Linked DNA regions of Homo sapiens: regions 2, 3, 4, 5, 6 and 7 are each linked to region 1. The links are contacts of gene promoters, found by promoter capture Hi-C in blood cells and fetal thymus (Javierre and others, 2016). All regions are on one chromosome and are shown on one strand. Each heading gives the region's core, a stretch centred on a gene start or on the middle of the fragment in contact. The rest is flanking DNA. Distances are from core to core; before and after follow the strand shown. Region 1 holds the start of DMRT1 (doublesex and mab-3 related transcription factor 1). Region 2 overlaps KANK1 (KN motif and ankyrin repeat domains 1). Region 3 has its middle 12 kb from the start of KANK1. Region 4 overlaps KANK1 (KN motif and ankyrin repeat domains 1). Region 5 overlaps KANK1 (KN motif and ankyrin repeat domains 1). Region 6 overlaps DOCK8 (dedicator of cytokinesis 8). Region 7 holds the start of DOCK8-AS2 (DOCK8 antisense RNA 2).

Region 1 (2,997 bases), core at 1-2,500:
GCGGGAGCGAAGATCCTGAAGACTCCTCTAGCGCAATAAACCCTCCCAATTCTGTTGGAACGCGGGCTCTGGGATCGCGGGGAAGCCCAGAGGGGCGAACCCCGGAATTCCCTGCCCTGAGAGCGGGATCAGGGATCTCAGGGACCCGGGAGCAGAGGGAACCCCCGCAACTCCGCCGAAACACAGGGTGAGAGATCGTGGGGAACCCCGAGCCGAGCGAAGCCCGCAACTCTGCCCGGCGGGCGGGATCAGACGCGTCTCCGGCGCTCCCAGACCGGCGATGTAGCGTGGCCGGGAGCCCAGGACCCCAAGCGCCGCCGCTGTCGGCAAGTACCGCCGCATCTCTCCACAACCCAGGACCCGCATGGCAACGGCCATGCTGGGGGGACTTCATTCAAGAAACTCGGGCCCCGCCGGGAGCGGTGGCCCACGCCTGTAATCCCAGCACTTTGGGAGGCCGAGGCGGGTGGATCACCTGAGGTCAGGAGCTCGAGACCGGCCTGACCAATATGGTGAAACCCCCGTCTCTACTAAAAATACAAAAATTAGCCGGGCATGGTGGTGTGCGCCTGTAGTCCCAGCTACTTGGGAGGCTGAGGCAGGAGAATTGCTTGAACCCGGGAAGCGGAGGTTGCAGTGAGCCAAGATCGCGCCACTACACTGCAGCCTGGGCAACCGAGCGAGACTCCATCTAAAAAAAAAAAAAAAAAAAAAAACTAAGGCTGAACCCGGGCTCCCGCACGCCCGCACCCACCTGCGCGGCCATCACGCGCTGCCTCTCGGCGATCAGGTTGCACTTCTTGCACTGGCAGTCGCGCCACATGCAGAAGCGCTTGTGGCCCTTGAGCGGCGAGGCGTAGCCGTGGTTCCTGCAGCGTGCGCACTTGGGCAGCCGCGGGGACTTCTTGCTCCCGGCACCCAGGTCCGACGCCCCGGAGCCGGAGCCGCCTCCTCTGCTGCTGCCCCCGGCGCTCGAGCCGCTGGCCGCCCCCACTAGCGCCCCAGACGCTTTGCCAAAGCCCCCGGCTCTGCCCTGCGGCGGTACCCCGGGGGCGTGAGGGGCTTCCGACGGTGTAGAGGGCTTGCTGAATGCCTCGTCGTTGGGCATGGTGCCCCTAGGAGAAGTGCGAGCACTCTGGCCCCCTCTCTCGCCTGGAGACTGCTGCGAGGGATGAACCCGACGGACAGCGACGCTCCGGAGGAGGAGGCGCAGGAGACGTGTGCGCTGCAGCCGGAGGCGCAGCTGGAGTGGCGAGGTCTGGGCACGCCACGCCCGGAGTGGTGGGGGGTTGTGCCTTTTCTTTTGGCGCGCGCGCGACTCAGAACTTTCGGATACTTTTCAGAACATTCCCGGGACTGCCTGGGAGGGAGCGTGGCCACGCCCACCGCCCCCCGACTCCAGCCACCGCTCTCCAGCTGCTTGCAAACTTGCACCGGCTGCAAGCATCCAGGGCTTTGCTGCAGGGTCCCTGCAAGCGCACCGAGAGATACAGAGCGGCCTGGGAATCGCGTGGCACCCCTCGCCCCGCTCTCGGAGGCGCCAAGACCCGGTTGCCAAAGCACGGTGCACCGAGGAAGCTGGGCTCCCCAGGTCAAGACCAGAGCCGTGCTTGCATGCTTAGAGGAGGTGCAAACCACCCTATGGGGTCTTCTAGCTCCCTTTCCCCCAGAGAGACGCACCAGATTTGATAGAGCCGACCTTGGCAGCAGCCAAGTCAGAAAAAAATTTTTTTTCTCGCTTAAGAGAATTAAATATGAGGTGGAAGGCCTGAGAAATTTATAGGGTAAATCAGAGTTGCCCTATATACGGCAAAGAAGATCCTCAGTGTTGGGGCACAAGCACTTCAAAAATCTCAAAGGTTGGAACTTTCTGTTCTCCGTTTATCCCTTCCTGCACCTGTCTTCATTTGCTCACAACACTTCTACCTCCTTCGCTCCAAATAACTTTACGATCTACTGTTGCAGCCCGTGTTCCCGTTCACTTCAGGTGCATATAGCTTCTTGTCTGTGAGGCTGTTTAAACTTAGACTCTGCAGGCACGGGAAACTCAAACTTAAAAAGAAACATATGTATTAAAAAAAACTGAGGTTGTGGGGGGTGGTTACACAGATGTAGAAATGTATCAAAACTCATTCTACACTTCATATCTTGCATTTTACAGTATGTCATTATACCTCTACACACACACACACACACACACACACACACACACACACACACACCCCTGGCTCGATCATCTTACAGCCTGTCCCAGGGTTCTCATCCTGAACTCCCGCCCCAGCCATGCCTGTGTCCTCTCTGCACCTGCACAACAAATGTATCCCTAAGGCCTGCTGAGCAGTTCTTCCTACACACCCACGTGCCCCCCTAAGGCCAGCCCTTCACCTCAAGTCTGAATCTCTGCGGTAGCTCCCAGCTGCTATCTCCATGTCTTAGTCTTCCGGTATATTCTATACACACAGCAGGGGGCCCCAGCAGTACTTTGCTATTGTTTTCCATGTTAACAAGTTAAAGACCCCGGAGTGGCTCTTAATGCACTTTGAATGCTCCTTATTTTCCACCAGCACTGGTACTCACCTTCAGGATCCTGGGCCGCCTCCAGACCTAGGGGATTATTTCTCCAAAGAGGCATGGTCACCCTGTTCAACTTCTCATCAAAATGGTTGTACTGTGGCCACCTCTTTCAGCAGTTTGGTGTTTTCAGCACTGAGTTCTGAAATCCTCGAATCTGCCTTTGGAGCTCTAATTCTGAGGCCTCTCTCACAGGCCCTTTCCCTCAGTCTGAAATTTCTCCATTAGTATTCTCTGTCTGAAAATTACTTCCAAAAGAAGCTTCTAGCTTTACACAGCACCTCATACCCTACCTGTGAAACCAGTGAAGCTCTACTCCTGACAGGAGCTAGGATGCAACAATCTATTCCATCCTGGAAACTTATAAATGATAACCACTTAAATCTTCCATTAAAACAATCTTCCATTAAAACACGCATGTCAATT
Region 2 (3,197 bases), core at 329-2,828, 280 kb after region 1:
TGCAAGACTTTTTTAAGTGTCCCAAGATATAATGAAACCAGGCCTGGACACTCAAACTCAATTTCAAGTACCACATATTCAGTCACCACCCTCAGCCTAAGCATCCATCACTTTTACCTACTTTTTTTTTTTAACCTCTCCAATAAAAAAGTCATCATCCTTCAAGTTTTCTAAGCTTGGAAAAAATGAAAATCACAAGTGAATGACAGTGTTGACTGTACAATTAAAACCTTCAATGCACAAAAATATTAAATGGATGATCTCTGCAAAAACCTCTGCAAGAAATTATAAATGGCAACTACCATTAACTTTTAGTTTAGAATAAATCTATAAAACCAAAAGAACAGACTAGACAACTCACAAGAAGGTGACAAATCTTTGGGAAAAACACTCAATGCCTATCAAGCTCCCCCAAAAAGGCTCATTTAAAATACAGATCACAGTTGTTAATTAAGAAATAAAGATGAAAAAATACAGTACATCCTTATTATTCACGGATTCCACATTTGCAAATTCATCTACTAAAACTTATTTATAACCCCAAGACTAATGCTCATGGTCATTTGCGCACAGGTGGAGAGAACCAAAATTTTTTTTTCTTTTTTTATTAAGGAACGCTTCACGAATTTGTGTCATCCTTGCACAGGGGCCATACTAATCTTCTCCGTATCATTCCAATTTTAGTATATGTGCCACTGAAGCAAGTACACACCAAAATATTTGAGTCACTCCACATACATGTACCCAGCTGAAGCCAAAAAACCAGCCTACACTCTTTGTTCTAGCCCTTATACTATTAACAAATGTCCCTTTTGTGGCTAGTTTTTAGGGCTTTTTTTTTTCATTTTTGTGGGTTTCTTGGTGATTTTGCTGTTTAAAATGAGCCCCAAACATCATGCCTTAGTGTCGTCTAATGTTCTTAATCACAACAAGGCCATGATGTGCCTTAGGAAGAAGAGACGCATTGGCTAAGCTTCATTTAGGCATGAGATACAGTGCTCTTCGCCATGAGGTCAATGTTAATGAATCAACAATGTATATTAAACAAGGTATCTTTAAACAGAAACACATGCAAAACAAGGCTATGTATTGATCGGTTGACAGCTGACAAAATCGTTATAACCAGAGGCTCACAGGAATCTAACTCTGTATTGTTCCCCTAGGAGCAATGGCTCAGTATTCACTAATTATGTCCACAGCGACTTTATAGAACATAACTGCCACAAATAATAACAGTGGGGTGTTCTTCCAAATTATCCTCTATTTCCCCTATTTCCTGCAGTGAGCAGTTTGCTATCTCTGGATATCCTATTTATATAACAGAACAGCTCCAAGTCATAGGTCTAGACTTCTTTGCTATGCTCCTCCTTAATGCCCTTCCAAAATTTTCCTCTAGCCTTTTCAAAGGTGCCTGCCCATTCTACACTGGTTTTTTCCACCTCCTCTCACAGCATCTGACTAATCCGATCTTCACTCCTGGGTTCCTTGACATTCCTACCATTGTTCGTATAGGTTTGTTTGTTTGTTTTTTGAGAGAGTCTTGCTCTGTCACCCAGGATGGAATGCAGTGGCGCGATCATAGCTCACTGTAGCCTCAACCACCCAGGCTCAAACAATCCTTCTACCTCAGCCGCCCAAGTCGCTGAGACCACAGGCGTGTGCCACCATGCCCAGCTAATTTAATTAAACCAGCCCAGGCTGGCCTCAAACTTCTGGGCTCACACAGTCCTCCCACCTCAGCCTCCCAAAGTGCTGGGATTACAGGTGTCAGCCACCACACCTGGCCGTACAGGTCCTTTTACAAAACAGATTTCCTTAGTTCTTGGGGCCTCAGTTAAGTTCTTGGGCTGCCTTCTCCTGTTCTTCCTCACCCAAGGATTAGTACTTTCGTGATCTGTCTTCTACATTACTATCTGTGGCCATGAGATCATATGTACATTTTTGACTAACAGTTTGGCTATTTTTCAATAGCCCCCTACCAAGAATTCCCTGCCTTAAACTCCAGGATGATATGGACATTTTTCCCCATTGTCACTTAAAGTTCATTTAGAAACATCTGGTAGGATCCTGAACCTCCACATTCATTTTTGTTCTAAATTTTTAAACCTTCTATCATGAAAAACTTCAAATATACACAAAAGAGAATACTATATTGAATACAATGCACCCATCACTAAGCTTCAACAATGATACATATTTTGCCAGCCTTTTTAATATATTCCCTCTTTTTCTGTTTTATATTTGCTGGAATCTTAAAGCAAAACCAAAACAATATATCTTTTCACTTATAAGAACATCAGTGTGCATTTATAACTAATGAATAAATTTTTTTTTTTTTTTTTTTTCCTTTTGAGACATGGTCTTGCTCTGTCACACAGGCTGAAGTGCACTGGCGCAATTTCATCTCACTGCAGGCTCAACCTCTCAGGCTCATGTGATCCTCCTGCCTTGGCCTCTCAAAGTACTAGGATTGCAGGCATGAGCCACTACACTCGCCCAGAAATTTGTTTTTAGAGTAACTACCATGCCATTAACAAACCTAACAAAATTAACAATTTCTTATCTTCAAGAACTCAATTCATATTCAAATTTTTATCATCTCAAAGCTGGTTTGTTCAAACAGGAGTCCAAAGTCCCCATACTGCATGTCATTACTGAGACCATACTGGGACTAAGGCAGGGAGGAATGAGCCCTAAGTGAGTCTGTAACAAGCGAGAAAGCAGCTCATTCAACTAAAAGAATTAAATTGGAGGTCTGGCCCAAGAAAGTGGAAAAATAAACAAAGAAAACTAAAACTATTCAGGAACATCATGAAGCAGGGCAAGAGCTAGAGAGAAAAGTACCAAAGGGGCTAGCAATTTGAGTAAGGAGAGTAACTGGACAAATGACAGAATTATCTTAATGGAACAAGGACTTTAGCTTTAAAAATCTCACTTTGGATCAATGAAGTAATGAGAAACAGTTACTAAAAAGCAAAACCGCATAGTCATTGTATCTAATTCCTCAAATTTTAGTTTCATAAGCACCTTTGTACATCATAGCACTTTAATAATTATAAGTTTAAAATGATCATGGCTAACTCCATGAGACTAAGATCTGGATCTGGCTGACTCCAGAGACTAAGACTCACCACGTAGTCAGAGGAGAGCACAACTCAGAAACCAAGGTTCCCTAAGTCTTCCCTGGGAATCACTAA
Region 3 (3,324 bases), core at 302-2,801, 350 kb after region 1:
TAAGTTGTGGTGAGCCGAGATCGCACCATTGCACTCCAGCCTGGGCAACAAAGCAAGACTCCATCTCAAAAGAAAAAAAAATGTATGTAAACTATTAGTATTTATTGCTACATAAATTGCCGGCCAGGCGCGGTGGCTCATGCCTGTAATCCCAGCATTTTGGGAGGCTGAGGTGGGCAGATCACCTGAGGTCAGGAGTTCAAGACCAGCCTGGCCGACATGGTGAAACCCTGTCTCTACTAAAATACAAAAATTAGCCAGGCGTGGTGGTGTGTAGCTGTAATCCCAGCTACATGGGAGGCTGAGGCAGGAGAATTGCTTGAGCCTGGGAGGTAGAGGTTGCAGTGAGCCGAGATCACCCCACTGCACTCCAGACAGAGCTAGACTCCATCTCCAAAAAAAAAAAAAAAAAAGCAAATTACCCCAAAACTAGCAGCATGAGACTATAAATGTTTATCATTTCACATAGTTCCTGAGAACCATCCAGTGAGCTGCTTCACTGGATGGTTCTGGCTCACAGTCTCTGATAAGGTTGCAATCAGAATGTCACTGGGGGCTTCTGTCATTTGAAACCTTGACCAGGGCTGGTGGATCCACTTCTGAGAAGGCTTCTTCACTCTTCTAAGGAGGCTCAGCAACTCACATGGTTGCTGGCAAAAGGTTTGTCACGTGAACTGTCCCATGACATGGCAGCTGGTTTTCTCCAGACCAAGTGGGGATGGAGAGAAAGACAAAAAGAATGACCAAGATGGTGGCTGCAATGTCTTTTATAACCGAATCTCAGAAGTGACATACCATCACTTCTGCCATATTCTATGGTCGCACAAACCAACCCTGGTACAATATGGGAAGGGACTGTACAAGGATGTGAATATTCAGAGACAGGGAGGCCGGCTACCAGGCCACAGCTGGTTTTCTTTTCTTTTTTTTTTTTTTTTTGAGACGGAGTTTTGTTCTTGTTGACCGCCCAGGCTGGAGTGCAATGGCACGATCTCAGCTCACCGCAACCTCTGCCTCCTGAGTTCAAGTGATTCTCCTGCCTCAGCCTCCCGAGTAGCTGGGATTACAGGTAAGGGTCACCACGCCCGGCTAATTTTGTATTTTTAGTAGAGACAGGATTTCTCCATGTTGGTCAGGCTGGTCTCGAATTCCCGACCTCAGGTGATCCACCCGCCTCGGCCTCCCAAAGTGCTGGGATTATAGGCATATGACACCGCACCTGGCCACAACTATTAATAACAATAAGATATTTTTTCTCAAAAGCATGTTTTGGTTATTAAATATATATTTCAAATATACATTTAAATGCATATTTCAATATATTTAATCTTAAACTTTTCAAATAATAATAAATAATGATATTTACTTAGTACTTTCTATATGCCAATCACTATGTTAAGCATGTGATGTGAGACTGTCTCTCACAGACAGCCTCACAGTTGTCCAGGCAACCCTTAACAGCTCTAAAGGATGCATTTATTAGTTGCCTCATTTTACAGAAAGGAAACCTGAAGCACAGAGAGGTTTAAGTAACCTGCCCAAGGACACACATCTAGTAAGTAAATCAGCATATAAACCCAGAGCTATCCACGTAAGTACCGACAGCATGGCTAAGCTATACTGATTCTCTCTAGTCAGTTTTGTGAAATAAATCTCTAACTATCGATGCTTTGCAAGTTAAGTACTATCATTCTATTTAAGCAGTTAAGGATTTCCCTACAGTCACAGAGTAAATAAACTAAGACTCAAAACTGGAAGTTAGGTTTGTGGAGTTCTGTCACAATTATGATGACAATAATGACTCTGTCTTTTCTCCTACTACTCTCCTCTTCCCTGTCTCCTGTCCAGCCACGTTGCCTCCTGGCTGTTCCTGGAACACTCCAGGTATGTTCCTTGCATTAGTCTGTTTTCACACTGTTGATAAAGACATACCCAAGATTGGGTAATTTACAAAAGAAAGAAGTTCAATAGACTTACAGTTCCATGTAGCTGTGGAGGCCTCAAAATCATGGCGGAAGGCAAGGAGAAGTAACTCACGTCTTACTTGGATGGCACCAGGCAAAGAGAGGGCTTGTGTAGGGAAACTCCCATTTTGAAAACCATCAGATCTTGTGAGACTTAATCACTATCACAAGAACAGCATGGGAAAGACCCACTCCCGTGATTTGATTACCTCCCACCGGGTTCCTTCCACGAAATGTGGGAATTGTAGGAGTTATAATTCAAGATGAGATTTGGGTGGGGACACAGCCAAACCATATCACTCCTGCTTTAGGTGATTTGTGTTTGACGTTTCCCTTTTCTCGCCCCAAATCAGCATGCTCCTTCTTTCTCTCCTGTCCACAAATGTCACCTCCCCAGAGAGGCCCACTATCACCATGCTATTTAAAATTGCACTCCAGGCCGGGCACAGTGGCTCACACCTGTAATCCCAGCACTTTGGGGGGCCGAGGAGGGTGGATCACGAGGTCAAGACATTGAGAGCATCCTGGGCAACATGGTGAAATCCCATCTCTACTAAAAAATACAAAAATTAGCTGGGCGTGGTGATGCACACCTGTAGTCCCAGCTACTCAGGAGGCTGAGGCAGGAGAATTGCTTGAACCCGGGAGGCGGAGGTTGCAGTGAGCTGAGATCATGCCACTGCACACCAGCCTGGTGACAGAGCAAGACTCTGTCTAAAAAAAAAAAAGAAAATGCACTCCAGGAGTGGGCACGGTGGTTTACATGTGTAATTCCAGCACTTTGGGAGGCCGAGGTAGGAGGATTACTTGAGCCCAAGAGCTCAAGACCAGCCTGGAAAACATGGCAAGAGCACATCTCTACAAAATGTTTAAAAATTAGATGGGGCATGGTAACACATGCCTGTGGTCCTAGGTGCTTGGGAGACTGAGGCAGGAGGATCCCTTGAACCCAAGAGTTTGAGGCTGCAGTGAGCCATGGTTGTACCACTGCACGCCAGCCTAGGCAACAGAATGAGACCCTGTCTCAAAAAAAAAAAAAAAAAAAGCCACTTTAGCCCTTCACATAGTCTCATCTTTGTTCTCCTCATCTTTTTTCGTAGCACTTATTGCCATCTATATTCTAATTAATTCATTTATTATGTTTATATTTGTTTTCCTGTGTCAGAATATAAGCTCCACAAGAGCAAGAATTTTGTTCTGTTTACTCATAGTCCCTGGCACTTACCACACTGTCTGGTATATAATATGTGCTCAACAATAAATATGTGTTGAATGAGCAATGAAGTAAACATAGGGAGCTTAACGTATTTTTGCCAATATCAGAGTTGCTCAGTTGAAACTTTGGCAATTTATTTTCCAG
Region 4 (3,419 bases), core at 352-2,851, 260 kb after region 1:
GCTTAGCAAAGGCAAACACACACACACACACACACACAGTTGAAAAATAAAATAAAGAGACTCAAGAATCCAAATCATACTTCCTTACTTGGTATCTAGATATATAAAGCAAGAAGAATGTTTCCTACTTTGTTTGAAGCAAATAAAACAAAAGGTGAATGCTTTTACTGATTTATTTCTGGGGTGATCCAACGAGAAAGCAATTTTCTGAGGAGTCCTCATTTGGCTCAGTTCTGCCCTTTAAACCATAAGCCCCAGTATGGCCAGTTCAGTATCCTCTGGTGTTCTTCTCTTCTCTCTCAGTTCTTGTGGAGGAAGTGATCACATCTAGGGGTGACCTGGTTACAAGGTGAAAGGAGGCCTCCTAGCTGGGCTCTGAGTGAGGGAATGATGTGTGCACAGGTAATGATCAACAACTAGCACTCTTTGGGGCTTTGCAGGATGCCATTGTGAGCTTCAGGGTGCTCCTATTCCCAAAGTTTACAGGTGAAACAGCTTTACTTTCCCAGAAAATTATAATAAAAAGTACAATTTTAAAATCCTACTTCTCATGCGTAAAGCCAGTGGTTCTCAAATGCTAGCATAAATCAAAATCACCTGCAAGACTTGTTGAAACATAAATTCCTGGGCCCTACCCTCAGAATTTCTGATTCAAGAGGTTTGGGGTGGAACTTGAGAATGTGTACTTCTACCAAGTTTCCAAGTGATGCTGTTTCTGGTCAAGGGACATTTTGAGAATAACTGCCTTAAACAAAGAAGTCTGAAGGGTGGGCACAAGCTATCTGGGAGATGATACTGAGAGGTGAAGCCGGCTGAGCTTCTGGGTCGGGTGCGGACTTGGAGAACTTTTCTGTCTAGTTAAAGGATTGTAAACACACCAATTAGCACTCTGTGTCTAGCTAAAGGTTTGTAAGCGCGCCAATCAGCACTCTGTAAAAACGCACCAATCAGCGCTCTGTGTCTAAAGGTTTGTAAACACACCAGTCAGCACTCTGTGTCTAGCTAAAGGTTTGTAAATGCACCAATCAGCACTCTGTAATAACACACCAATCAGCACTCTGTAAAATGGATCAATCAGCTCTCTGTAAAATGGGCCAATCAGCACTCTGTAAAATGGACCAATCAGCAGGACGTGGGCGGGGCCAAATAAGGGAATAAAATCTGGCCACCAGAGCCAGCAGAGGCAACCCGCTTGGGTTCCCTTCCATGCTGTGGAAGCTTTGTTCTTTCGCTCTTCACAATAAATCTTGCTGCTGCTCAGTCTTTGGGTCTGCACTACCTTCATGACCTGTAACACTGCAAAGGTCTGCAGATTCACTCCTCAAGTCAGCGAGGCCATGAACCCACTGGAAGGAAGAAACTAAGGACTCATCTGAACATCTGAAGGAACAAACTCCGGACACACCATCTTTAAGAACTGTAACACTCACCGTGAGGGTCTATGGCTTCATTCTTGAAGTCAGTGAGACCAAGAAACCACCTGAAGGAACCAATTCCGGACACAATACAAGCTTTCTGTTAATAGTATAGAAATCTATTTAACAGTTATTTATCATGCACCAGGTACATGGTACGTACAGGGAATGTCATGGTTTGCAAAAAAAAAACAAGGTCCCTCCTCTTCCTCTCCCACAAACCTGAAATAAAATTACTGTTCCAGGAAGAAGCACCAAGTTCAAGATGAAGCTTTCTGTATCTCCAACACAAACTGCATGCCCCATGAGGAAATGTACAGTCCCCTAAATGAAACAATGTCAAGTCTCCGTGATTGCCAGTGAAAGAATCGAAGCAAACGTCTGAGCCTGCTCTCAAGACTGAGATTACAACTAGAAAATGATGAAGTACCCAAAACATATAAGGAGCACACTATGACAAGCATATGATTGGCATGAGGGCTAAATGCAAGGGAACTGTGGGAAAGATAGGCACAGTGCCTAGCAGAGCAAATATTGGTTCCTCTTCTGCTTTCTTACCTATCTGTATATTAAAAGGGAGGCCAGTAAGGTTGTCTATGCTGGGCCTTCAAGGAGGCTGCCAGCTGCTTCTTACCTTGTATACACTCAGGACCCAAGGGTATGTTATCTCAGCAGCCCTGAGCATTTAAACTCATAAAATTATAAAAGGATGGTATGAAGCTAGTGGTACTGAAACTTTATCATGAATCAGAAGTATGTGGAGGGCTTTGTAAAAACACAGATTCCTAGACTCCCACCTTCAGAGTAAGCAGTAGGTCTGATAGGGCCTAAAAATTTAAAATTTCTAATAAGTTCCCAGATGATGTGAATGATGCTGGTCCATAGACCATACTTTGGGAATCATTCATTAAACTTATTGTTTTTTGTTTTGAGATGCAGTTGCACTCTGTTGCCTACGCTGGAGTCCAGTGGCACAATCTCAGCTCACTGTAACCTCCACATACTGGGTTCAAGCGATCTTCCTGCCTCAGCCTCTCAAGTGGCTGGGATTATAGGCATACACCACTACATCTGACTAATTTTTGTATTTTTAATAGAGACAGGATTTCACCATGTTGACCAGGCTGGTCTTGAACTCCTGACCTCAAGTGATCGGGCCCGCCTTGGCCTCCCAAAGTGCTGGGATTACAGGCATGAGCCACTGTGCCCGGCCAAGCTTATTGCTTAAGCCATTCTTTCCTTGCTATTAACTAGAACACTATCTCTGTAATTAATTTTTTTTGAGACAGGGTCTTGCTCTGTTGCCCAGGCTGGAGTGCAGTGACATGATCATGGCTAACTGCAGCCTCAACCTCCCAGGCTCAAGCAATCCTCCCACCTCAGTCTCCTGAGCAGCTGGAACACAGGTGTGCATCACCATTCCTGGCTTTTTTTTTTTTTTTTTCCCTGTAGAGACAGGGTCTTGCTATGTTGCCCAAGCTGGTCTCAAACTCCTGGGCTCAAATGATCCTCCCAGCTCAGTCTCCCAAAGTGCTGGAATTACAGGCAAGAGCCACTGTGCCTGGCCTCTGTAATCTATTATATAAAACAGAAGTCTCATGAAGTACTAAGAATAGTGGCTTTTGTCACCAACTGCGTGACTGACCTCAGGCAAATACTGTACTAACTTTCTCTGTGCTTTAACTTTACAGATATAAGTGGAGCTTATCTCCAAATTATACAAATCTCACTGAAGGTTATTACTATGCAGTTTTAAGGACATTACCAAGTATCAGCTGCTGCCTTGTCTTTGAGAATATTGTTCACTGCTTTAATTGAAATATGTCAGAACATTTAAGACAAGTACCCTAGACTCCTCATTTGCCAAGCAAGATGGGAGAAGCCCAGGATCTTTTTCTGTTTTTGTTTTTTTAAACATAAAGCCTAGCAAATGTTAGCCTTCTCAAAATTCAGAATAACCTGAGAAGATGCTTTTGATATGTAAAATGACTTCAAGTTCCCCTG
Region 5 (3,054 bases), core at 492-2,991, 330 kb after region 1:
TATTGGCTTATTCTGAATGAAGGCTGGTCTAGCAGCCTTCATCTTAGAGAAATTATCACTGAATTTTACCTGAGGGGAAAGGAGTTAAGATCTATAATTAGGCAAAAAAGCAGCCTACTGCATTCTAATCTCTGGCAGGTGTTTACCATTAAACCCCATGATGCTGACTTGAATGTACCAAACAGCTTTCTCCCAAAATCCTCCAAGTACTTTTTTCGGCCTATATATTAGTTCATTTATTTTCGGTATCTTCCAGAAAAAGAATAGTAAGGAAGCCAGCATCACCAACCCCACTGTCCAGTGGTCAACCGGGGCTCTCCCTATGCACCGCTGATCTCTCTCCTTGAGAAGGCTCAGTGTCTCTTTAGTGATGTCTGCTCCCTAGCCAATTTCTAGAGACTCCTTAAAGCTGAGCTCAAGTCTTACTTTTGGGGGAAGCAGCTCCTAATCATCTAGACAAGAAAGACTTCTCCCTCAGAACTTAAACAAGCACTGCATTTGTAGAATGAACACTCCTTGGTCATGTGTAAGAATTTTGCCTAACTGGTATTTTTAATTATTAGATATAATTTCTGGACAATCAACTACTTAATGGTATGATCCTTCTTATATCCTTTCAAGCTCTTGGCTCAATACCTTTGTAAACAGGACCATATAAAGAAAATTAATCAGTGATACCTAAATGAAATTGCCACAAAGGTTCAATTTATGCTATTTTTAAAGAAGTTATCATGGTCAACCTCACCATTATTTTCAGAATTGCAATTTAACCCAATGAGACACCCTTTTGCAGGTAACATATTAGCAATTTAAAGATTTCTTAGACTGGGTGCAGTGGCTCACACCTGTAATCCCAGCACTTTTAGGAGGGCAAGGAGGGAGGATTGTTTGAGGCCAGGAGTTTGAGACCCGCCTGGACAACCTAGCAAGACCCCATCTCTACAACTAAAAAAAAAAAAAAGGAAAAATTAGCTGAGTGCAGTGGCACATGCCTGTAGTCCCAGCTACTCGGGAGGCAGGCTGAGGCGGGAGGATTGCTTGGGCCCAGCAGTTCACGGTTACAGCGAGCTCTGATCCTGTCACTGCACTCCAGCCTGGGTGACACAATGATATCCTGTCTCAAAAAAATAAAAAAGATTTCTTTAATCAATTCCATATTAGGTTCAAGGATAACTCTGCAGGCAGCAGTTTAACAAAGATCCCAAGCCACATAAACAAAAATCTCAAATTTATGAAATACCCAAGAGGGAGGTAAAAACTATATGCACAAAGATGATTTCCACAACGGTATGTACTAGTAAAACACCAGAAATTAACACACATTTCTAATAAGAGGATTATTAAATGAAAGCATATCCTTAGGCATATGCAGGGATTAAAAAGTCAGAGACTGAAGCAATATTAAGATACTGTGTTAAGAAACAAAATACAAAATTGAATATTAGAATTGTGACTTCATAAAAACATGAACAGACATGGAAAAGCACTGGAAGTGAAGACAACAAATAATTAGTCTGCTAGGATGGGGTAAATATAGGTCATATTGGGCCAGTGGCTCACGCCTGTAATCACAGCACTTTGGGAGGCCGAGGTGGGTGGATCACGAGGTCAGGAGATGGAGACCATCCCGGCCAACATGGTGAAACCCCGTGTCTACTAAAAGTACAAAAATTAGCTGGGCGTGGTGGCGTGTGCCTGTAGTTCCAGCTAATCGGGAGGCTGAGGCAGGAGAATTGCTTGAACTCAGGAGGCAGAGGTTCCAGTGAGTCAAGATCGCGCCACTGCACTCATCCTGGTGACAGAGCAAGACTCCGCCTCCAAAAAAAAAATAATAAATAGGTCATATTTTGTCCATTTGCCAAACTCTGCAGATCTACTGCTCTTCCAATTTAAAAAGGACACAACAGAACTCTCTCACACTACGGGTAGAAGTATAAACTCTACAACCACTTCAGAAATCCGCATGACTGTACCTCTAAACTGAATCCTAGTTTGGAACTGGGAAATTCTACTTCTGAATAGAATTTGTACAAATGTACACATTTGTATTGGATATTGTGTATCAAGACGTGTACTAGAATTAGAATGTTCATAGTCACACTACTTACCATGTAAGAAACTGGAAACTATGTAAATGCCCCTCAAACCTAAAAATTGATAAATTGTAGTCATACAATTGAATATTACACAGCAGTGAAAATAACTGAACTACAGCCACAAGCAACAACACAGCTGAATCTCACAAATATAATGTTGAGAAAGAAACCAGGATACTAAAAGCTATATACCGTGTGAGTCTGTGTAGAGCATGAAAACAGATAAAACTAATCCACAGTTGGCACAACGGTTACTCTTCGGGAGGGGCAGTGATTGGACAAGAGTATAGGGGCACTTCTGCAATGCTGGCAATATTTTGGTTCTTTCCGTGAGTACTTGTTATATGTTTATGTTCACTTTGTGACAATTTGTGAAGATGTACTCTTAAGATGTATAGCTACAGGCTGGGCACAGTGGCTCACGCCTGTAATGCCAGCACTTTGGGAGGCCAAGGCAGGCGGATCACCTGAGGTCGGGAGTTCGAGACCAGCCTGACCAACATGGAGAAACCCCGTTTCTACTAAACATACAAAATTAGCCGGGCATGGTGGCAGATGCCTGCAATCCCAGCTACTCAGGAGGCTGAGGCAGAGAATCGCTTGAACCCGGGAGGCAGAGGTTGCAGTGAGCTGAGATCACCCCAATGCACTCCAGCCTGGGCAACAAGAAAGAAACTCCATCTCAAAAAAAAAAAAAAAAAAAAAAAAAAAAAAAAAAGGCTGAGCAGGGTGTCTCACACCTGTAATCCCAACACTTTGGGAGGCAGAGGCGGATGGATAACCTGACGTCACGAGTTCAAGACCAGCCTGGCCAACATGGTAAAACCCCCGTCTCTAACAAAAATACAAAAATTAGCCAAGTGTGGGGGCGCATGCCTGTAATCCCTCAGCACTTTGGGAGGCTGAGGTGGGCGGATCACAAGGTCAGGAGTTGGAGACCAGCCTGACCAACACGGTG
Region 6 (3,022 bases), core at 468-2,967, 440 kb after region 1:
CTCAATGAAGCTTGTATGTCACTGCTTTTTATGGTCCTATCCTTTTCGTTGATCAGCCCTCAAATCTCTCAACCCCCCCTTCTTATTTTAAAACTGAGGAAATTAAGACCCATAAAATTGGAAAAACTTATCTAAAGTCACTAAGTGACTAACCACAGAGAACGTGGTGGTGATGGGAGAGGTGGTGATGGTGGTGGAGGTGGTGGTGGTGATGATGGTGACAATGATGATGGTGGAAGAAGTGATGGTGGAGGTGAAGGAGGTGGTCATGGTGGAGCTAATGGTGGTGGTGGTGGAGGAGGTGGTGATGGTGGAGGAGGTGGTGGTGGTGGTGGTGATGGTGGTGGTGGATGTTGTGGTGATGGTGAAGGAGCTGTTGGTAGTGGGGGAGGTGGTGGTGGTGGAGGTGGTGGTGATGGTGGAGGAGGTGGTGATGGTGGAGGTGGTGGTGATGGTGATGGTGGAGGTGGTGGTGATGGTGGAGGTGGTGGTGATGGTGGAGGTGGTGGTGGTGGTGGAGGTGGTGGTGATGGTGAAGATGCTGGTGGTGGTGGAGGTGGTGGTGGTGATGGTGGAGGTGGTGGTGGTGGTGGAGGTGGTGGTGATGGTGAAGATGCTGGTGGTGGTGGAGGTGGTGGTGATGGTGGAGGTGGTGGTGATGGTGGTGGAGGTGGTGGTGGTGATGGTGGAGGTGGTGGTGATGGTGGAGGTGGTGGTGGTGATGGTGAAGATGCTGGTGGTGGTGGAGGTGGTGGTGATGGTGGAGGTGGTGGTGGTGATGGTGGAGGTGGTGGTGATGGTGAAGGAGGTGGGTGGTGGTGATGGTGAAGATGCTGGTGGTGGTGGAGGTGGTGGTGATGGTGGAGGTGGTGGTGGTGATGGTGGAGGTGGTGGTGATGGTGATGGTGAAGGAGGTGGTGATGGTGGAGGAGGTGGTGGTGGTGGAGGAGGTGGTGGTGGTGGAGGTGGTGGTGACGGTGAAGATGGTGGTGGTGGTGAAGGAAGTGGTGGTGATGGTGGAGGTGGTGGTGATGGTGGAGGTGGTGGTGATGGTGGAGGTGGTGGTGATAGTGGAGGTGGTGGTGATGGTGATGGTGAAGGAGGTGGTGATGGTGGAGGTGGTGGTGGTGGTGATGGTGGAGGTGGTGGTGATGGTGAAGATGCTGGTGGTGGTGGAGGTGGTGGTGGTGATGGTGGAGGTGGTGGTGATGGTGATGGTGAAGGAGGTGGTGATGGTGGAGGTGGTGGTGGTGATGGTGGAGGTGGTGGTGATGGTGGAGGTGGTGGAGGTGGTGGGAGGTGGTGATGGTGGAGAAGGTGGTGATAGTGGGCATGGGACTAATGAGAATGGTGGTGGCTGGTGGTAGTAGTAGCAGTAATGATGGTACTAGTGGCTAGATTAGGGATATGGAAGGAGAGGAGCAGCAACAATAACTGCTATTTATATTACTATTGTTAAGGTAGTTTGAGGGAGACAGCACATGAATAATTCCATTTAAAAATCTGGGGGGATGGCACTGATAGATGCACTTGGTTTATGAAATATTTGCTATGTGCTCAGTGAAATTAAATCTCTTTGAATGATTTTATTTAAGAACACTTTAAAAAGGTTCTTTCAAGTCGGAGCATCACAACAGCAATTTAATTAATTACCCTAATATGTGAAAAGAGACCTCAGACTGGGAGCGCAAGGACTTGTCAAAGACTGAAAGCACTGTATAGCCATGTTAATTTTCTGTTGAATGTCAAATTGAAGATTCAGATCATATCACAAATTTTAATTCCCACAGATGAATCTGTTGACCCTTCTACACTGTCGGTAAATGCTCCAGGAATCAAGGTAAACCAGCATGTCTGAGGAATGTCCATGGCACAGACATGAGGGACGTGCTGCAAAACACAGGATGTGTAGGATTCATGCCAACTCAGTAATGAAGAAGACAGCGTGCCATGGCAACGAACATCACATTATATGAGAAGGAACCAAGTGGCTCGCTCGGGGGTGGGGGTGGGGGGGACACTCACCTGGCTGCAATAATGTCTGATGAGGTTAAACACAAAGCCCCGATCCATGAGGGAGAGAAGGTCATACAAGAAGAAAGCCAGGCTGATGTTCATCTTTTCCGCCTGTTCATTTTCCTTAAAAACAAACAAACACCCAAATCATTTTGTGGGACACTCTGGATTTGAACTTCCAGGTCACTGGTGGGAACATTGGGAGAGACAGGTCCTATTATTTCAGCCACTGTCCTTCTGGGTGGCACTGGGCGAAGTAGTTGAGTCTCCTTTAACTAAAGCCATGACTGTGAGGTTGAATCAAGTAATTATTCGTGCACTGTTAATATTTAGGTGCATTTCCTTCCAGTCACTTTTTTTTCTACATGCATATTTATATGTGTATAATTAACCTCATTCTCTATATACTATGTTGGATCCTACTTTTTTTTATATCCTGGTAACTTTTTTTTTTGTAACTATTTTCTTTTTTTTTGGCAAACTGACTTGAAAAATACTTACTGTTTTCAATGAGACAGTTTCTTAATTTTTAAGGATTATTACAGAAAATCCAATCAGGATAAAAGAATTAGTTTTTACCTAAGAAATTTATTCCTCAATTAGGCAGCATTTCCAGCCTAAGAGAGGTCAGAGTCATACTCCGCAGGGTGTATTCACTCCGTAGGGTAAATTCCTCCATGAATCCCAATTAATAAGCTACGCCTATTTTTAAAATTTTTAATTTGTATTATTTCTCAGTGCTCCTGTTTATGAGGGATTTTACAGTGCTTCAGAGCAATCTGGGATTCAGTTTTTCATGTTTATGTCCTTTATTCTCAGAATGACAAATCAATTTCCTTTGACACTATTAAAAATATGGTTTGAAACTATTTTGCTTTTGTTAACATGCAATTTGCAAATTCAGGCCATGCTGACCAGTCAAGTCACTGGGATGGATGGGGACCTGATAAAGAGGTTGCTACCGTGCCGCTGAGAGGTCCTCGAACTCTCTCCGCATTCTCCACAT
Region 7 (2,969 bases), core at 71-2,570, 370 kb after region 1:
CTCCTTGGGGCATGCAGAGAGCGGTCACCATCTCTTGACCTCTCTCCTCAGCATGCTCCCCACTTCCCTACTCTACTTCCTTGTGGTTTCCTTCCTTTGTGCCCTCAGTCTAGTGTCCTTACCCCTGTCCTGGAGACCCCATCTCTTTTCTCCAGTACATAGTGCCCCTCCTCGGTCCCTTCCTGCACATTCCACTCAGCTGGCACTATCGCTTTCCTTGGCCCAGCTTCGCCAGCTCTGAAAAAGCAAGGGGTGAGGTGCAGTCCATCAGATGGAAGAGATGATATAATTGATGATCAGATCCAGGGCAGGTGCCCAGCAGTAACAACTGTGGCAAATTTCTACATAAGCTAGCTGAGAAACAAGCTAATAGAATGAGCTTATTTCCCAGTGACAATGCAATCTAGTGTTCTATGACCGGCTCCTTGCAAAACAATAACCCTGGCATTATGACAAGATTCACATTAACTGTGCAGGGCCCTGTCTTGACTACCCAGGTGGCTAGCACCTACTTGGATAAGAATGTCCTGAGCTTCAAATCTCTTCCCTGATAAAAAGAGGGCTGCTGCTCTCAAGGAACTTCAGTCAAGGGGAGTGGGGGAAGACAGTCCCACACACAGACAAAAAACTAGGGGGTGAAAGGCCAATGAGTGGTGGGAAGGAAAGGGAAAGAAGCTTCCAGAAGTAAGTGCTGAATGGGAGATTAAACTTGGCTGGGGGCCACGGTGGAGCACAGGTGTAATGGAGGGTGGGGCCTCTTTCAAACCTCACTCGTGGCTGTGTGCACGCGTGTCCGTTCCCACTGGAGTGGCGGTGCTTTCTTGTGGCAGGGGATGGGTTGCTTCCCTCCGAAGTCTTCGCTAGAACTCCCTCCTCCTCCTGCTTCCTTTCACCTGTTCGTTCCAAACATACATTGAGCTGCACGTTCTGGGTTCCCTCACGAAGGAGATTTCAGGTCTATGCCCACTTGCCACGATTTTACTTTACTTGGTTCCCAGTTCTACTCCTTTCCCTGAGCTTCACAGTGTTGAGAAAAAAAGCCCTCAGCCTCCCCGAGTCCCTCAGGCCACGCACCCTCTCACTTTGCTAATTTCCAACCACTCGCTGCTGAGCAGGCTGGAGCACGCCCGCTTCGGACGCCCCGAAACACCCTCGGGCGCATGCTCAGTAACTCCCCCACGCCCCTACCCGGGCGCATGCTCAGTAACTCCCCCACGCCCCTACCTGGGCGCATGCTCAGTAACTCCCCCACGCCCCTACCCGGGCGCATGCTCAGTAACTCCCCCTACCCCGCCCGTCCCACCACTGCTGCCCTTCGCCGCCGCCCCCGGCAGTGCTCGCTCTCTCTAGGCCCCATGTAAATCGCTGTGTTTGCTGGGGAGCCCTTAGTTCAATTCTCAGGGGATTAGGGCCATTGAGATTCTTAATCAATTGCTGGGTTCCACGCGATCCTCTTTAGAAACTTTTTGCTTAATATGCATCTAGAGACATGCACGGCCCGCCTGCAGCGCTGGAGCCGATGGAGTGGAGCCTGGGAGGCTGCAGGCGACCCCCAGGCTTCTAAACAGCAACGTCAGTTTAATTATTGCAGATCCGTCACAGCTGCCAAGTCCTCTCTGTCTTCGTTGTTGTTAACGGGGAAACTTGCCGCCCGGTGGCTTTGCTTCAGGCGGAAGTCCGCGTGCTTTGATACCCTCAGGGGGCACTTACAGGCTAGGTGGACACAGGTGGGCTGCGGGACTCCGCGAATTTACCTTCCAGGGGAATGCACTGCACACATGCTGCACACAGGAGACAGGGAAGCCTGGCGAGGTTGGGTTTTCAGGCGCCACTGTATACACTCTCAGTTCCACTGATACCCTTTCTTTCTTCTACCCGCTTTCAGGCGCCACTGTATACACTCTCAGTTCCACTGATACCCTTTCTTTCTTCTACCCGCTTTCAGGCGCCACTGTATACACTCTCAGTTCCACTGATACCCTTTCTTTCTTCTACCCGCTTTCAGGCGCCACTGTATACACTCTCAGTTCCACTGATACCCTTTCTTTCTTCTACCCGGAGGCCCTGGTAGTTGGCTCTCGCCAGACAATGTAAACTGGCACTACAAGTGGAATAGACCAGACGTTTATTTTCTGGTAAGTCAGGCCTCTGTCCTGCCTGCACCTTTGGCCTGATTTTGATTAACGTTGTCAGAAGCGGATGCCATGTGTGGGGGTGCTGGCTAAACTTTCTGGAAGTGTCAATTGTAAACAGTGTTACCTTACATTTTGGGCAGCACTTTTGAGTTTCCAAAACATGTTCCCATGCATTATCTCATTGGGTTTCCTCAGTAGATTGGAAGAATGTGGAGGAACTTGCACCCTCTTTCACAGTGAAAAAAACCCTGAAGCTCAGAGCAGTATAGTATCTTCGCCAGAATTGCAGGACTAGAAAGTGAAAGAACAAGAAACCAGGTCTTCTGGTCCTTAGTCTGGAGACTTTTGGCAGTCACATATACTTTTTTATTATCTCACTAATAACTCTTGATAATCTTGTTGGATAACAGAACAGTTTGTTCATCCGTGTCGTGTTCTCTCATTGCATTAAGGAAGTGATGAGGGAGCTGATTTCTCAATTGTTTTTTAGAGCTATAATGCCTTGAAAATCATTCCCTTATCCTGGCTATCAGTAATTTGCCATCTCCTAATATGTAGTAAAAATAGTAAACGTAAAAACTAGCTGCCAAGCTAATGCCACAAACATCAAGTAGGAACTGGGTTGGATTCAGTAACATCGGTCCAGAGAGAGCACTGCTCCTCAAGATGGGTGCAACATCAAGGACTTAGGGATCAGGAATGTGCACGGCTCTCCAAATGGTTTTCAACCAAGGTGATGCTGCATTTCCTCTAGTAATTTCATAATTAAAAACTTAGTGATTATCAGAAATTTAGTTTTTGCTTTCTTTTTTGTTTGTTTTGGTTTTTGAGACA

Evidence for each region. The method cuts DNA at HindIII sites, captures the fragments that hold promoters and counts their contacts. A CHiCAGO score of 5 or more calls a contact.
Region 2: a fragment that was not itself captured here is called in contact with the fragment with the promoter of DMRT1 in region 1 in 5 of 17 cell types (M0 macrophages, M2 macrophages, megakaryocytes and 2 more); the score reaches 7.5 in M0 macrophages.
Region 3: a contact is called between a fragment that was not itself captured here and the fragment with the promoter of DMRT1 in region 1, in 2 of 17 cell types (M2 macrophages and M0 macrophages). The highest score is 5.5, in M2 macrophages.
Region 4: a fragment that was not itself captured here is called in contact with the fragment with the promoter of DMRT1 in region 1 in 4 of 17 cell types (M1 macrophages, monocytes, M0 macrophages and 1 more); the score reaches 8.0 in M1 macrophages.
Region 5: a contact is called between a fragment that was not itself captured here and the fragment with the promoter of DMRT1 in region 1, in 1 of 17 cell types (M2 macrophages). The highest score is 6.0, in M2 macrophages.
Region 6: a fragment that was not itself captured here is called in contact with the fragment with the promoter of DMRT1 in region 1 in 1 of 17 cell types (endothelial precursors); the score reaches 5.3 in endothelial precursors.
Region 7: a contact is called between the fragment with the promoter of DOCK8-AS2 here and the fragment with the promoter of DMRT1 in region 1, in 5 of 17 cell types (endothelial precursors, M1 macrophages, megakaryocytes and 2 more). The highest score is 10.2, in endothelial precursors.

Annotation. Positions count from the first base shown.
Region 1 is chr9:839,950-842,946 of GRCh38, reverse strand. It overlaps DMRT1 (doublesex and mab-3 related transcription factor 1), which reads right to left and starts at 1,250. Exons shown (of 5, transcript NM_021951.3): 1 at 755-1,250. The coding sequence starts at 1,108. The HindIII fragment of the contact is 3,804 bases long and covers 1-2,834 here.
Region 2 is chr9:556,337-559,533 of GRCh38, reverse strand. The region is part of intron 1 of KANK1 (KN motif and ankyrin repeat domains 1); the gene reads right to left. It also overlaps the pseudogene RNU6-1327P. Among named protein-coding and RNA genes, the nearest start is that of KANK1, 53 kb to the right of the region's middle. RefSeq lists an enhancer at 1,180-1,731. The HindIII fragment of the contact is 1,205 bases long and covers 976-2,180 here.
Region 3 is chr9:490,644-493,967 of GRCh38, reverse strand. It overlaps a transcript of KANK1 not described here. Among named protein-coding and RNA genes, the nearest start is that of KANK1, 12 kb to the left of the region's middle. The HindIII fragment of the contact is 5,391 bases long and covers 1-3,324 here.
Region 4 is chr9:574,949-578,367 of GRCh38, reverse strand. The region is part of intron 1 of KANK1 (KN motif and ankyrin repeat domains 1); the gene reads right to left. Among named protein-coding and RNA genes, the nearest start is that of KANK1, 72 kb to the right of the region's middle. RefSeq lists an enhancer at 3,098-3,419. The HindIII fragment of the contact is 175 bases long and covers 1,514-1,688 here.
Region 5 is chr9:507,882-510,935 of GRCh38, reverse strand. The region is part of intron 1 of KANK1 (KN motif and ankyrin repeat domains 1); the gene reads right to left. Among named protein-coding and RNA genes, the nearest start is that of KANK1, 4.7 kb to the right of the region's middle. The HindIII fragment of the contact is 6,814 bases long and covers 1-3,054 here.
Region 6 is chr9:398,263-401,284 of GRCh38, reverse strand. DOCK8 (dedicator of cytokinesis 8) reads right to left here. Exons shown (of 48, transcript NM_203447.4): 26 at 2,026-2,139. Among named protein-coding and RNA genes, the nearest start is that of DOCK8-AS2, 70 kb to the left of the region's middle. The HindIII fragment of the contact is 3,410 bases long and covers 13-3,022 here.
Region 7 is chr9:468,480-471,448 of GRCh38, reverse strand. It overlaps DOCK8-AS2 (DOCK8 antisense RNA 2), which reads left to right and starts at 1,320. Exons shown (of 2, transcript XR_002956871.2): 1 at 1,320-2,135. It also overlaps a transcript of KANK1 not described here. RefSeq lists a silencer at 1,233-1,282 and enhancers at 1,393-1,542, 1,045-1,570, 2,103-2,202, 2,443-2,492. The HindIII fragment of the contact is 2,947 bases long and covers 678-2,969 here.